Regions from separate parts of the Homo sapiens genome. Here region 1 is linked to region 2. Evidence: promoter capture Hi-C in human tissues and cell types (Jung and others, 2019). All regions are on one chromosome and are shown on one strand. Each heading gives the region's core, a stretch centred on a gene start or on the middle of the fragment in contact. The rest is flanking DNA. Distances are from core to core; before and after follow the strand shown. Region 1 overlaps CWC27 (CWC27 spliceosome associated cyclophilin). Region 2 holds the start of RNF180 (ring finger protein 180).

Region 1 (3,583 bases), core at 1,018-3,517, 630 kb after region 2:
AGCAATTTTTAAAACATTTAAAAATATATTTGGTGTTTGTTCTTCCTTTAAATTCACTGTTACTTGACGGTATAAATAAGAACCTTAAAGTAGGTCATTAAGAAAGAATAGGCATTAAAGGGAAAAATGTCTGAATTCATTTTCACTCTCTTAAGGATTGTCTCCTAATTTCTTCAGTTCATCTCCAATTTGCTTTCTCTCCCTGCAGGATTCAGAGTCTACTGTAGTGGGAAGAGAGGCCTAACAATTTGGCTTTTCATATATTTCTATACTAATTTAATTTTAAAAGTTAGTTAAAATTTGAAATGGTAATGATTATTAAAATTAAACACAGGTTCCTCCTATTGTCAAGTCTTATTTTAAATTAGTGTAAAACAAGGTTTTTCTTTTTCCTTCCAGCTATTTAAAGTAAGTTTTGGAAGATAAACAAGAACCTTTTTAAAAAAATTAATTACTTTTTAAATTAGCTAAATGGAGCTAATTAACATATGAATTACCTCACATGCTTATCATTTCTTGTGAGGAGAAAACTTAAAATCGCTCTTAGTGGTTTTCAAGAATACAATACAAGAACCCATTTTAAAAATATATTAACAATGAAATTAACAATTGTAAACTAACATTCACAAGGAAGTGAAATAGTATAGCTCATTAATGGACCAAGAGCTTACTTAGAGATCTGAATTCTAATCTTGCTTTTGCTATTTATTAGTGTAAGTCATTTTCTGATCAGTGGACCAAAAGGCTAGAACAGAGGATCTGGGGCCAATTCTGACTGTGATGTTTATGATTGTGACTTTATAAGGGAACCAGGTGGGGAGAATTAATATAGGACTATTTCTGAAGGTAGATGAAAATAATCTGACGGCCAGAGATGCAGGAGGAAGGAATTTTAAGGAAGGAAAGCATGAACAAAAGATGTTCAGGCTTTTATTCTTGTTTAAGTTATTTGATGTTCACTGTACACTTTTGCAGATAATCTCATTTAATTCTCTTATGTGAAATAGGCAAGGCTGCTATGATGATTATTCCCATTTTGTAGGCAATGTTTCTGAGGTCTCATGAGATCACTGTGTTTCAACAAATGGTACATGTTTTAGACTAAACCCCATGGAATTGTGGAATACTACATTTTGAAACTCATTTGGTCCAACCACCATCTTTCTTCTTGTCCTGTCTTCTTTCTACTATACCACCTTCTGTTTTGTGAATATTTTCCCCCGTTTTTCATAGTCAGACAAACATTATCCAGTAATTAGATGACATTTTGCTTTTTCATCACTCCTTAGTTTAAGTAAGTTTATGAAATTAGATATATAGATTAATTGCATAATTCAGATTCTATGACTTTTTAAAACTACAAATAATAGCATATTTAGATTAACTGTTGGAGAAAATTTTGTATTATGAAATTGCACTATAAGCATGTTTTAATTGATTAACTCTATAGAGAGCTCCATATTAATACAGAAATTAAAATCTATTTAAGAGCCTGTTTTTCAAATTAAAAGTGGTGAAGGGAGCTTAAGGAAAAGAAGTGTTTTCATCTCTCTGTGTCTGTGTCTGTTTAAATGTCATTTAAACATTTTAGTTAACATACTTTGTAATAAATTTTCCCACATAAAATTTTCTTCAAAATTTTTCAAAGCAGAAATTATTCTTTCTGTCAACTCTAATCTCTTAACTATTCATTTTTATATGATTAGTTGGGAGTTGGGGTGGTGAGCATCTTCCCCCCTCAAGATACAGGGTGTAAGTTTGAGGTGTCCCACCCTGCAGTAGGGAAATCTGTAGAATAGGAGATTGCAGCTCTGAAACCAGGCCGGTATTCTGGGCCCATAGGGGCCTAGAGGAAAAGAAAAATGGATACATTTAGATTTTCGATATATGGGTACTATTGTCAGACAGACCTGGATTTAAACCCTAGATCCTCTACCACTGACTAGTTTTGTGACCTTTAGTAAATTACTTAATCTCTTTAACCATCTGTAAAATGGGGCTAATAATTCCCACCTCATATACTTTAATTTGGGAAGAGAAGAAGAGAGGGTTAGCAATGCTATTTGAAGCACAGTGCCTAGCACAAAGAATATACTTAATACTTGGCCAGGCACAGTGGCTCATGCCTGTAATCCCAGCACTTTGGGAGGCTGAGGCGGGCAGATCATGAGGTCAGGAGATCAAGACCATCCTGGCCAACATGGTGAAACCCTGTCTCTACTAAAAATACAAATATTAGCTGGGCGTGGTGGCGCATACCTGTAATCCCAGCTACTTGGGAGGCTGAGGCAGGAGGATCGCTTGAACCCCGGAAGCGGAGATTGCAGTGAGCTGAGATCACACCACTGCACTCCAGCCTGGTGACAGAGTGAGACTCCATCTCAAAATATATATATATATACTTAATAGCAGCAGTAGTTGTTGTTTTATAATGCTACTTCTTAAACCTTTTTATATCTTGTTTCCCTTCTAAAATGTACATTTTTTGAAAACATGAACTTTGAAATTAAAGCATTTAATAAATATTTGGTCACTGATAAATATTCTCATGCTCAAGAGGCTCTTCTATATCTTTTTTTGTTGTTGTTGGTAAGTAGTTCCTCGGGGATGCACTTATCTTTTGCTTGAGTAACATTTTAAAAAGTGATTCTGTGCAGTATAGGTGGCATATTTGAAGAATAATAGCATGCATTTATTTCAATACTCTTGTGATGTAGCTTCTAAGTTATAGGGGTCATAAAAATTAACTAGTTTCATAGTATGCAAATTATTATGAGAATTTAGTGCTTCAAGTTGGTAATTCAACAGACTTCTTTTAAATGATATATCATTTTTTGAAAGAAAAGGTGTTTCTAAAATACTATTTTCAGTCAATAGAAGAGTAAGATTCTTACTTATAAAACTTTAGTTTGTATTAAACTTTTCAGGAATACATCTTTTGCTAACCATATTATATCATTGCTAGGTTTTATGTAAATTTGTTAACTTGTTATTTAGGAATACTGTTTATTTCCCCCCTCATGATTATATTGTACATTCTTTGCAGAGCATGAAGGGCAAAAGCAAAAGTAGTCATGACTTGCTTAAGGATGATCCACATCTCAGTTCTGTTCCAGTTGTAGAAAGGTTAGTCCATTGTTGGTATGATCCTAAGTTCTTAATTTTCTGGCTCAGATAATTTTCTTGCTTCTTCTGTGAGTAAACAGTCAGTCCTCATAAGTCAAAAATTTTTAAGCCAGCCAAAAAAATAAAGCATTTTGATAACAGAGATAGAGAACTTCAAGCTTGATAGAGAGAAACAAACGCTCTAGTCACTTTCGCACTTGCTCTCTACCTCTGTTGAATGAATTACATTTAAAATTGTTTTACCATTACATGTTAGGACTAGAAACTGTTTGCTTTAACAGTGTAATGCTTAATTCAAGGTTGTTTTGCTACCTTTTCCTTGAAGCATTTTTGCCTTAATTGTATCATGAATGAACAAATTACAGTTAAAGGTTTTTGTGAAGAAGTTACCAGTTTGGGGGCCAGTCCACTGACTATAAATTCTCACATACTTTGAGGAGTTAACAGAAAGTTGTCT
Region 2 (3,477 bases), core at 455-2,954:
AAATACTATTTAAACCTTTGTATATTTGAAAATGTCTTTTTAAACCTCATACTTCATCAATTTCAAAATTGGAAATCATTTTTTTCTCAGAATTTATCTTTTATTTATGTTTCTGTTGAGAATCCAATGCCATTCTGATTTCTAAATCTTCATAAATCACCTCCTATTTTTTCCTCCATGAAAGTTAAGATCTCTCTGACTCATGTGGTTTGAAATTTCACAACTTGGTTATAGAAAATTTTTATCCATTAAACTGAGAGCTCATGTGCTTCTGTCCTTTAGCTCTGAGAACTGTTGTCCTCGTTTTCTTTGGTAATTATCTTTCTTCTCTTTGTTCTACTAGCTGTTAGATATTCCACCTTTCCTTGCCTAACTGCCCTGGCTAGTGCCTCCACTATAATGTTGAATAGAAGTAGCAACAATTGACATCCTTGTCTTATTCCTGATTTTAGGTGAAAATGTTCATTCTTTCAAGATTAAGTATGATGTTAATTATGGATTTTTCAGAGGCTCTTTATTAGGTTGAAGAAGTTTCCTTTTATTCCTAGTTGAAGTGTTTATATCAAGAAAGGGTGTTAGATTTTGTCAATTGCTTTTCCTTCATCTTTTGAGATGATCATGTGGTTTTTACATTTAGTCTATTTAAAGTAGTGTGTTACATTAATTTTGTATGTCACACCAAACTTGCATTCCTGAGATAAATCCTACTTGGTCATGTTGTATAATTTTTTAAAATGTTGCTGGGTTTGGCTTGCTAGTATTTTGTTGAGGATTTTTATGTTACTATGCATAAGGTATATTGGTCTGTAGTTTTCTCGTGATGTCTTTCATTTTGTTCTTTATTTCCTTGTATTTCCAGATGGGAAGTCACTGCATACAGCCCTAATCTTAGGACAAGTTTCCAAGTAAGCCACTTCAGGCAAATAAAAATTTCTGTATCTAGCAGAGAAACAAAGCTGTATATTTTTTTTGAGGTTCCCTCCTAGCTCCCTTCCCTCTCCTCAAGCCAACTAATAAAACTTGCTTTTTATATTCCGAATCTTATTTATAGTCGTTTGATCATCTATGAGGCACCTGCAAGTCAACATTTACTGCACGCGGCCCCCTCACTCCCTAAATAAGCACTTTTGATTTACCGCCAGTCATCAACTCACCTCCCAACTGCAATTTGTCAAGAGTAGTGTCAGGTGCACTTTAGTGGTTAATCTCCTTGCACATCGGTGGAACTTTAGGCACAAGAAGGTAAGCAACGAAGATAGTGATATACGAAGGGAAAACTAAACCCAGGTAGCGTTGCCAGCTTAAAAGTCCTAGGCATGGGGATGGGTGGATGGGACGCCGGCCTAAGATTTTAGCAGGGAACAGACCCAGTAGTTGGCTTGGATCTCTTAACTCCAGAAAAGGCCGAGTGAGGACAAGGGAGACCACAGGGATAATTTCTGTGGCTCTGGTAAGGGGATGACAAGGGAGAAAAACTTTCCCACGGTTCCGTCTGGCCCGCGGCGCTTGTCTGCCTGCGCGGGGTCAAAGCCCGGCGCCGCCCACGCGCGGCTCGGGTGGGAACCCGCAGACGTGGGGCGAGCAGGGCCGCTGGCTGTGGCGGGCGAGCGCCGGGGCGCCACGTCCGAGGCCGCGGGGTCGGGGCTGCAGGCACAGCTCGAGCGCTTTCCGCGGGGTTTGGCTCCTGTCGCTTCCCGTCTCGCCGAACCGGCATCGCCGCCGCCGGAGCCGCAGCGAGTCCTCAGAGCCTGGCTGCTGGCGGCCGGGAGCGCCGGGACGGGGCGCGAAGCCGGAGGCTCCGGGACGTGGATACAGGTAAAGGCCGGCGGGTCGGAGTCGGGCGGGGCGCGGCGGCGGCGCCTCTCGGAGGGACCTGGCCTCGGCCGGGCCCTACCCAGCCGCGGTGGCCCGGGCCCCCACGTTGGCCCAGGCGGGGACGTGCCAAGGGGCTGGGCTAGGGTTGCCGCTGGCCTGGCCGCCTCTCGCCCGGCGGGCCTCAGGTGACGCGGCCGCGGCTTAACTTTCGCACCTGAGGCTCTCGGAGCGGCCTCGGGGCGCGCCCACCTGGAGGTTGGAATTACACAGGGTCGAAAAAGCTGAGTCCTGGAGGCGAGGCGCTGTAGGTGTGGCGGAGGAGGCCGGGGAAGGTGGGGTGGGTGCCAGGGGTCCAGTACTGAACCCTCTCCAGGTCTGAGGTGGGGAACTGCGTCTTGTTTAATTTCGGAGCTTGTGGGGACCACACAGCCCCTTCCACGGCCGATTCCCTCTGCACGGTTCCACTTTCCTTTGTCTAGCCCATTTCAGTATCGGCGTCGCAGTCGCTTTTGTTGCAGCCTTGGGTCCGGAGTGTACGACTTTCTGCTAGGCAGAGGTCATAAGCTCTGAAATCCATCGGGCGGAGGTGGGGAGATGGTCCTTTGGTGGGAAATTACTAGTGCTGTTATGAACACTAACACATATATTCCACCTTGTTTTTTTTCGAGATAGTGCTCATTATTTTCGTAGCATCTAACAGTTGTAAGTGTATCTGTGAGAGCATTCATTAGTTAACTTCAAAGGAGCATTATGCGGTCGGGTTACTATTATCCCATTTTATAGACCAGACAGCTGAGGCACCCAAGAGGCAAAGTGATTATATCAAAACTAAGCAGTCAATCCTTGTGGAATCTGTGATTAGAACTTGTCTGACTAGAGTTGTCCTTGGTCCAGTTGGTCTCTTAGTCTCAAACAAAATTTAGCTCTCAAAGATGGACGGTCTGATGCTCATTGTATTTTTATATACTCATTAATTGTTAAAACCTTTCTTAAAAAATAGAGTCAATTCCTTTCAGACTCCTGTTATAGTACCCCTAAAAGTGATACTTGAAAGATCATAAACACTTCAGTTTCAAATGAGTGGTATCATTTGAGTCGTAGAAAGAAGTAAAATTCCGTTGTCTTTTATCTGTCAGACTTTCGTCTCTTGTATAAATGTAGTGCCACTGGCAGCCCAAAGATACTTTGGTGACAATGGCAGAAACTCTAAATATTTATTTAATAAGTAGAATCGAGGAGGCGAGCTGTTAGGTTTCCCGGAATATTTGAGTAAGTTTTTTCTCATAAAGAATCAAAAATTTAGGAGAATAGTCATTTTAATTATTGTAATGAAAAATTATCTCGTAATTGTGTACGTGTTATGTTGTACTTTATCTCTCTGGAACCATCAACAATTTACCAGTTTCCCTAGGGTTTGCTCTTAGTTTTGTCAATGGTATTTTATTACCCCATTTTTCTTCCTCTCTTTCATTTTTTGTGTGTTTGGTTTTTCAAAGTGAAGATTTTTTCTTCGAAAATTCAAAAAATAATATTGAAAAAATCAACAAGATTTCTTTCTTGATAAAATAGACTTAATTAGCACTTTTTTGAGTGTGTCTGAGGACCGACACCAGCCTCTTTAATAAGCACCTCATACATGAAGCAGGAATTCTTCCAGGCAAG

What was found. The method cuts DNA at HindIII sites, captures the fragments that hold promoters and counts their contacts. A contact is called where the count stands out against the background at its distance.
Region 1: a contact is called between a fragment that was not itself captured here and the fragment with the promoter of RNF180 in region 2, in 1 of the 25 tissues and cell types used here (bladder).

What each region holds. Positions count from the first base shown.
Region 1 is chr5:64,797,202-64,800,784 of GRCh38, forward strand. It overlaps CWC27 (CWC27 spliceosome associated cyclophilin), which reads left to right. Exons shown (of 14, transcript NM_005869.4): 8 at 3,047-3,126. Among named protein-coding and RNA genes, the nearest start is that of CWC27, 30 kb to the left of the region's middle. The HindIII fragment of the contact is 3,591 bases long and covers 473-3,583 here.
Region 2 is chr5:64,164,139-64,167,615 of GRCh38, forward strand. RNF180 (ring finger protein 180) reads left to right here and starts at 1,705. Exons shown (of 8, transcript NM_001113561.2): 1 at 1,705-1,815. The HindIII fragment of the contact is 11,374 bases long and covers 1-3,477 here.